Regions from separate parts of the Homo sapiens genome. Here regions 2 and 3 are each linked to region 1. Evidence: promoter capture Hi-C in human tissues and cell types (Jung and others, 2019). All regions are on one chromosome and are shown on one strand. Each heading gives the region's core, a stretch centred on a gene start or on the middle of the fragment in contact. The rest is flanking DNA. Distances are from core to core; before and after follow the strand shown.

The links. Contacts are between HindIII fragments. The study calls those that stand out against the background at their distance.
Region 2: a fragment that was not itself captured here is called in contact with the fragment with the promoter of SOAT2 in region 1 in 1 of the 25 tissues and cell types used here (stomach).
Region 3: a fragment that was not itself captured here is called in contact with the fragment with the promoter of SOAT2 in region 1 in 2 of the 25 tissues and cell types used here (bladder and neural progenitor cells).

The regions. Positions count from the first base shown.
Region 1 is chr12:53,102,121-53,104,947 of GRCh38, reverse strand. It overlaps SOAT2 (sterol O-acyltransferase 2), which reads right to left and starts at 1,462. Exons shown (of 15, transcript NM_003578.4): 1 at 1,289-1,462; 2 at 742-797. The coding sequence starts at 1,370. IGFBP6 (insulin like growth factor binding protein 6) reads right to left here. Exons shown (of 4, transcript NM_002178.3): 4 at 2,608-2,827. The coding sequence ends at 2,781. RefSeq lists an enhancer at 1,352-1,880. The HindIII fragment of the contact is 25,360 bases long and covers 1-2,096 here.
Region 2 is chr12:53,494,235-53,497,061 of GRCh38, reverse strand. All of the region lies in intron 1 of MAP3K12 (mitogen-activated protein kinase kinase kinase 12), which reads left to right. Among named protein-coding and RNA genes, the nearest start is that of MAP3K12, 3.8 kb to the left of the region's middle. RefSeq lists a silencer at 463-757. The HindIII fragment of the contact is 4,391 bases long and covers 1-2,827 here.
Region 3 is chr12:53,358,542-53,361,368 of GRCh38, reverse strand. No RefSeq gene overlaps it. Among named protein-coding and RNA genes, the nearest start is that of SP1, 20 kb to the left of the region's middle. The HindIII fragment of the contact is 4,324 bases long and covers 1-2,827 here.

The sequences.
Region 1 (2,827 bases), core at 213-2,712:
GGCCTGCGGGGGGAAGGGCAGGCATTGGTGGGGTGGTGATGGGTCTGCTGGTGGGGTAGGACCCCGCAGTGCTAAGTGCTGTGGTAAAAAGATGAACAAGCCATGATCCCTGCCCAGAGTTGATCTCCTTCTGGCTTCCTGGGGCAGCAGCGAGGATCAGGGAGTGACAGCAGGAGCAAGGCTTCCCCTCCCTGGGTCTGAATTCCAGCCTGGTCACCTCCGATTGTCACTCCTCACCCCTGGCCTCCAGCCGCACTAGCAGGAAGACTCTATCTACTGGCTGACTTTTGGTGACCTTTGGGACCTGTGCTTCAAACCCCTCCATCTCCATCCTTAATTCGAATCCGATCTTTGCACTCAGGAACAAGTCATCAGGCTGGGCACCGTGGCTCACACCTGTAATCCCAGCACTTTGGGAGGCCGAGGCGGGTAGATCACTTGAGGTCAGGAGTTCAAGACCAGCCTGGCCAATATGGTGAAACCCCGTCTCTACTAAAAATATAAAAAAAAAATTAGCCACACCTGGTGGCACTCATCTGTAGTTCAGCTACTCGCTTGAACCTGGGAGGCAGAGGTTGCAGTGAGCCGAGATTGTGCCAATGCACTCCAGCCTGAGCAACAGAGCGAGACTTTGTTTCAAAAAAAAAAAAAAAAAAAAGTCATCTTTATCACCAAGCCTCACTCCTGCTTCCTGCTACCAAGGATCTGTCCACTTGACCTCTGACCTCTGACATCCCTCACCTCCATGTGTCGGGTCCATTGTACCAAGTCCGGGGCTCTGTGCGTCTCAGTGTTTCCTGTGAGGAGGGATCAAAGGCACAGTCAACAGGAGGAATTGGGGTTCTGCAGACCCAGAGGCATCCTGTGGTCAGGAAATGCTTTGTGTGCTCAGCAGCTGCCCTCACCCCAACCAGCCAATATCTAGTATCATGGTTGGGGCTACTAGAAGGGGAAGTTGCTGTTGCCAGTGGTGAGGAGGCCATAGGCAAGCAGGGGGCCTGGTGACATTACTGGGAACAGGGCACTCAGGGAATGGGAAGCTACTCCATTCACTATCTGGGGCTAAACAGTCAGAAGGATAAGGCCAGGCCACAGCTCTGACATAGCTCTTTTCTGTTCCATCTTCCAGCTGGGTGGCTCTGGGCTGAGGCCAGGGTCTACCTTCCTTGGCCTCTCTGGACAGCAGGAAGGATTGGCATCAGGCAGTTGGAGCCTTCTCTCCATAGCGCATCTCTCCCCGCCTCCCCCCCACTTGCCTGTGCCTTCTGCACCCCCGAGGGCGGCTCACCATCTCCACAGGGTTGGCGCTCCCGCTCCCCTCCCAGCCCTTCTGTCCTCTGCAGACGCAGACGGGCCCCGCCTGGCTCCATGGTGCGGTCTCCAGCGGGCAGCAGGCAGCCCTTGCCCGTGTTGCCTCCTTCCTTCGCAGTGTGGCCTGCCCTGTAGAGCTCTTGTCCCACTCAGCTCAGGTGACAGCTCCAAAGACTAAAGTCCTTTCAGGAGGAGGGGGCCTCTGGGAGTGCGATAGGTTATCTGATCTGGAGGCAGAGCTTCTCAGATTCAGACCTCACTCTGCTGTCTGTCGCAGGGATCGCCACATCCCCCTAACACCCCAACCACCATCCAGATGCCCAGCTCCAAGGGTGCTATCCACCCCGCCACACACACACAGGAATAGTGGCTGGGTACATCTTGGGGAGGGGAACTTTGCCTCTCAGAAGCTTGTCACCTAGCATGGCTGGCCTTCCAGTCTCTCTCCCAGCAGGCTGAAGGTCAGGGAGGAGTCAGAAATGTCTTCATGTATCAGTGCGTTCAGCTCGCTTTCACCACAAGGTGTGTGATTGACACATGTGGTAATATTCTGATGGGGTTGGCACTGTGCTACTCACGGAACTGGGGCCCCTCCAGGAAAGGCTGAGTGTCAGGGCCCCTGAACTGACAGGGCCGCTTCCTGACACCTGCTTGGGTGAGCATGTAGGCAGAAAGGAGACTAAACAAACACGTATTCAGCACCTAGGGAATACCAGGTATTGTCACATATGGAAGAACCGGATGCAAACCTCCCTCTGTCATTTACCAGCTATATAATTTCAGGCAAGTGACCCCAAATTTTAAGCCAGTTTCCTCCTCTGAAAAATAGGGGTAAAAATCCCTATATCACAAGGTTATCGTAAGCTCAAAATGAGGTTGTCCAGGTAAAATCACATGGTTCAGGGCCATGGGATGAGCTCATATATTAGTAATAATTTCCTTCTTTTTTTAGTAGGAAGTAACAGAAGGGTATGTGCTTTGAGAGTTCCTCTTTGCTGGGTTCCTGCTGGGATTAACTATTAATCCTTCCCCTCCCTTTGTGTCCAAAGATCAGTGTTAGAAACAAGGTCACAACTTCAGATTAAGGCCATGATCTCAGTGTCTCCCCTTCCCACTCCCAACTCCTGGTGGGCAGCTCTGTGAGGCTTGATGGCTTGAAGCTTCTGCCTGGCTGTCACAGGAAGGACTAAAGGTATCCACAGGAAAGGAGAAATGCTGTGAGTGAGCTGTAGTGGGGTAAAGAGAGGGCCAGGGATTCCAGAATTGTGAGAGGCAGACACAGAGACACAAGCCAGCGACCCCAAGCACAGCTTTATTGACACCCCAGCCAACACCAACACTCTTTCCAACCAGCGGTGAGGGGCCCATGGGGCGGGGCCTGAAGGTGGATTGAGGGCCTCGGTTTTTTGTTGAGTGATGACAGCTCCATGTTCCTTCCAGTGGCCCTGCAGCCCCTCTATCCCCCAGCTTTAGCCGCTACTCCCAGTGGGGCAGGAGGAGCTTCCATTGCCATCTG
Region 2 (2,827 bases), core at 154-2,653, 390 kb before region 1:
CCCAGGTCTGTGTAACCCAGAACCTGTGTTCTTACCCACCACATTATGTACTGCATTGCCACTGTGGGACATAGGTACCACTGTCCCCGTTTAGCAATGAAGAAACTGAGGTTTGTTGAAAAGTCTCAGGCCAGGTCACCCAACTGGCCAGGAGCAGAGACAAGACCTCAGGAAGCCACTCTGATTTTGAGGCCTGTGTTCTCTCCTCTACCACCTACCCTCTCCCTATTGCACAACTGTCCTAATAAGCTAAGTGAAGGAATGCATGAGCAGTCCATCAATCTTATTTTCTCTTTTACAATTTAAATTTTATGTCTTACTTTAAAAGCAATTCAAAGTTGTTACTGAAATACTAGGAATATACGTAAACCCAAAGGAGAAAATTAAAACACTCACAATTCCACCTACCTAGAAACTGTTGTTATACTTTGGTATTTATTCTTCCAGATTTTTAAAAATGCCCATCCCGTTGAGGAACTATATTTGTTAACATCCGCTGAACTTCTTCCTGGTCTATCTGAGGTCCTAGGTAGGAGGGACTCCTGAGGCCCATCCTACCCTGCTCTTGCCCTCCCCTTCCCCGAGGCCTCCATGGGTAAGGCTGAGGGGTGATCCAGGGCCACGTGATCAAAGGGAGGATCTTAGCAGTACAGCTGCTTAAGAGAGCAGATTCCAGAGACAACTGGCCAGGGAGTGAGGATGGGGTGCAGAAAATCAGGCCATCCCCCTTAGTCCAGAGGAGACAGAATGGCAGGATTTACAGAGGAGGGACTGGTGATCTGGTAGAGGAATGACTGGGGACTCCAGCACAATCACTAGCACTGTGACCTGGTTCTACTGGAACCTGAAATCACAGTTTATCCTGGGAAAGCAGAAGGTCAGAGACCAAGTCTTCAGCCTCTCCAGGATCCACAAAGACCTGGTGTCCAGCCAACCAGGAAGACAAAGCAAGGAGGAAACATGCTGCTCCCTGCACCCCCTCTATCACCCTACTTAACCTTCACTACCCCCAGCAGGGTGGGTTGGGCACCACAGAGAGATTACATTCCTTAAACTAAGTGGTGGCAAAACTGGGATTCTAGCTCTGATCTCTCCAAATCTGAAGCTGATTCTTTTTTCCTAAATAGTACTGTCCCTCCCTTCCCTGAACCCCTTCACTGCCCACCCCACTGGAAGTGTGGCAGCTAGGGGTCTCAGGGCTTGATTTACCAATCAAAGACCCGAATTTAGGGGTGATCTCCAGTTTTCCCCCAAGTTCTCAGGGGAACTCATTTCTCCCTCATGAGGGCACTAAGAAAAGCAATAGTTCTTTTCCTCTTGGGATCCTGGGGCCAGGACTGCGGATCCTGAAAAATGGAAAATAAAAACAAGCTGCAGGGCACAGTGGTTCACACCTGTAATGCCAGCATTTTGGGAGACCTAGACTGGTGGATCATTTGAGCCCAGGAGTTTGGAACCAGCCTGGGCAACAGAATGAGACATGGTCTCTACAATTTTTTTTTTTTTTTTTTTTTTTTTTTGAGATGGAGTCTCGCTCTGTTGCCCAGGCTAGAGTGCAGTGGCGGCGGACTACAGGTGCGCCCACCACTACGCCTGGCAAATTTTTTGTATTTTTGGTAGAAACGGGGTTTCACCATGTTAGCCAGGATGGTCTCCATTGCTGGGATTACAGGCGTGAGCAACTGCGCCTGGCCTTTTTTTTTTTTTTTTTTTTTTTTTTTTGGAGACAGAGTATTGCTCTGTCGCCTAGGCTGGAGTGCAGTGGCTCCATCTCGGCTCACTGCAGGCTCCGCCCCCTGGGTTCACGCCATTCTCCTGCCTCAGCCTCCCGAGTAGCTGGGACTACAGGCGTCCGCCACCACGCCCAGCTAATTTTTTGTATTTTTAGTAGAGACGGGGTTTCCCCATGGTAGCCAGGATGGTCTCCATCTCCTGACCTCATGATCCGCCCGCCTGGGCCTCCCAAAGTGCTGGGACTACAGACGTGAGCCACTGTGCTCGGCCTTTTTTTAATTTAGTCTGGTGTGGTGGTGAGTGCCTGTAGTCCCAGCTACTCAGGAGGCTGAAGGGGGAGGATCACTTGAGCCCAGGAGGTTGAGGCTGCAGGCAGTGAGCCGTGATCATCCCACTGCACTCCAGCCTGGGCAACAAAGCGAGACCCTGTTTCAAAAACAATACGAGCTGCAGCCAAGGGGACAGGAGGCATGGCCACGATTGATCAGAGACCTTTATCCTCTCAGGGTTTCAAAGCTTGCAGAGGTGGAATTAGGACTCCAAAGTCTTGGGTCTCCTTTCCCTTTGAAGACTCCCCTTCCTACCCCCACTCACGAGAGAAAGGGAATCATTCTCCTTTTCCTGAGTAAAAAAATGAGGTCTCAGACAGTGGAGAGCACTCAGTGTGAGAGCCCAAGATTTAGGCAGATGACCTGGCCTCTGAACTGAGCCCCTAAGACCACCAAACAGCTTAGCATTGACATTCTGCTGTTATACAAGAAGGAGCTAGAGAGAATTCAGAGAGTTTACCTGCCACAGGCTTCCAAAATCTCAGGCCAGAGAACCTAGAAGGTGGGATAGATGGGGGGTGACTTCCTACCCCACTCTACCCTGTAGCCTCCTTATGGAGTCACTTTGGGGCCACCAGCAAAGCACTGAATTAGGGCCTGTTGGGTGTCCAAAGAGCCTCCTCCCCTGGCACATGTATGGCTTAGAGATCATTCTGTCCCCTCACCCAATGTGAGGCAGAAGCACCATCAACACTTGGTAGATATGGTTGACAGTGAGTGACAGAGAGACCCACCCTCCTGTCACATTGCTGCCCTTCCCCCAT
Region 3 (2,827 bases), core at 170-2,669, 260 kb before region 1:
GCTAATTTTTGTATTTTTAGTAGAGACGGGGTTTTACCATATTGGCCAGGCTGGTCTCAAACTCCTGACCTTGTGATCTGCCTGGACGGCCTCCCAAAGTGCTGGGATTATAGGCATGAGCCCCCGTGCCCAACAAATTCTTTTCTTTTTTTTTTTCTTTTTGAAACAGAGTCTTGCTCTGTCACCAGGTTGGAATGTAGTGGCATGATCTTGGCTCACTGCAATCTCCACCTCCCGGGTTCAAGCAATTCTCCTGCCTCAGCCTCCCAAGTAGCTGGGATTACAGGCGTGCACCACCATGCCCAGCTAATTTTTGTATTTTTAGGAGAGACGGGGTTTCACCATGTTGGCCAGGATGATCTTGATCTCTTGACCTCATGATCCGCCCGCCTCGACCTCCCAAAGTGCTGGGATTACAGGCGTGAATTTCAGTTATTTCTGTGACAGGGTCTCACTCTGTCGCCCAGGCTGGAGTGCAGTGGCTCAATCATCGGTATTTTTTGTAGAGAAGAGGTTTTGCCATGTTACCAGGCTGGTCTTGAACTCCTGGGCTCAATCATTCCACCTGCCTTGGCCTTCCAAAGTGCTATGCTTACAAACATGAGCCACTGAGCCCGGCCATATTTTTATTTTTATTAAAAAGAAATTTTTTTTTTTAACTGGGCATGGTGCTGCACACCTGAAGTCCCAAGCCACTCCAGAGGCTGATGTGGGAGGGTCGCTTGAATTTGGGAGACAGAGGTTGCAGTGAGCCCAGATTGTACCACTGTACTTTAGCATGGGCGACAGGGCTTTTGTCTTAAAACAGAAACAAAACAAAAAATAAATAAAAACAAAAACAAACAAAAATAAATAATTTGTTTGTTTTTGTTTTTGAGATACGGTCTCACTGTCACCCAGCCTGGAGTGCAGTCACGGGATCTCAGCTCATTGCAGCCTCCACCTCCTGGGCTCAAGCAATCCTCTTGCCTCAGCCTCCCAAGTAGCTGGGACCATGGGTGCCTGTCACCATACCAGGCTAATTTTTTTTTTTTTGTAGAGAAAAGGTCCCACTATGTTTTCCAGGCTGGTTTTGAACTCCTGGGCTGAAGGGATCCTCCTGCCTTGGCCTCCCAACGTGCTGGGATTATAGGCATAAGCCACCTTGCCCAACCTTAAAATAAATTTTTGAGACAGGGTCTTAGGTGTCATCCAGGCTGGAATGCAGTGGTACAGTCATGGTTCACTGCAGCCTCCACCTCCTGGGCTCAAGTGATCTTTCTCTCTCAACTTCCTAAGTAGCTGGGACTACAGGCGCAGACTACCACACCCAGCTAATTTTTAAAATTTTTTCTAGAGATGGAGTCCCAATACGTTGCCCAAGCTGGACTCAAACTCCTGGACTCATGATATTTCTGCCTTGGCCTCCCAAAGTGCTGAGATTACAGACATGAGCCACTGCGAGTGCCCAGCCAACTGTTTTTATTTTTTGTAGAGACAGGGTCTGTGCTCAGCCTACATTTTTTTTTTTGAGATGGAGTTTCACTCTTGTTGCCCAGGCTGGAGTGCAATGGTGCAATCTCGGCTCAGCAACCTCTGCCTCACAGGTTCAAGTGATTCTCCTGCCTCAGCCTCCCGAGCATCTGGGATTAGAGGCATGTGCCACCATGCCCGTCTAATTTTATATTTTTTAGTAGAGACAGGGTTTCTCCATGTTGGTCAGGCTGGTCTTGAACTACCAACCTCAAGTGATCAACCGACCTCGGCCTCCCAAAATGCTGGAATTACAGGCGTGAGCCACCGCGCCTGGCTCAGGCTATATTTTTGTATTGCATTGTTTGACTTAAAGAAGCTTGTTATGTGTATTAGATATTAATTATTTGTTTAAAATATGACAAATATTTTCTCCCTATGGATTGTCTTTTTTTAAATTCTACACACGCTGCAGGTGTTGTTGTTGTTTTGTTTTGTTTTTTGACAGGAGTTTTGTTCTTGTTGCCTGCCACCACGCTCAGCTAATTTTTTTTTTTTTTTAATTGAGATGGAGTCCAGGATGGTCTCAATCTCTTTACATCATGATCCACCCGCCTCGGCCTACCAAAGTGCTGGGATTATAGGCATGAGCCACTGTGCCTGGCCCCTAGATTTATTTTTTTCTAGAGTTTTACAGAATGGAGGCTGAAGCAACTCCATCTTGGATGTTAATCTGCTATGTTGACTTCTGAATAACCCCAGCTCCAGGAATGCCTCTAAAATTTTTATTTTATCTACTGATCTTTGGGTAAGAGCATATACTTATCATAAATCCTGCCCTTAGGTCAAGACCACCTTGACCATGAATCTTGCCCTTAGGCAGATTCACAGAACATTCTTGCCTTTCCCATAGAGGTCGACTTCAATTGTCCTACACATTCCTTCCCTATGGTATATAAATTCTGGATCTGGAGATTAATGGCACAGGGATACACTGTCTTGTCTCACCACTGCCAGAGATACAAACAGGGCTTCTGTTTGTAAGTCCCTGTTAAATGTTTCTTTCTTTTTTTGAGACGGTCTTGCTCTGTCGCCCAGGCTGGAGTGCAGTGGTGCAATCATGATTCACTGCAGCCTCAACCTCCCAGACTCAAGTGATCTTCCTGCCTCAGCCTCCCCAGTAGCTGGGACCATAGGCAGGTGACACCACACACAGCTAATTTTTTTTTTTTTTTGACGGAGTTTCGCTCTTGTTGCCCAGGCTGGAGTGCAGTGGCATGATCTTGGCTCACCGCAACCTCCGCCTCCCGGGTTCAAGCGATTCTCCTGCCTCAAGCGGCCGAGTAGCTGGGATTACAGGCATGTACCACCTCAC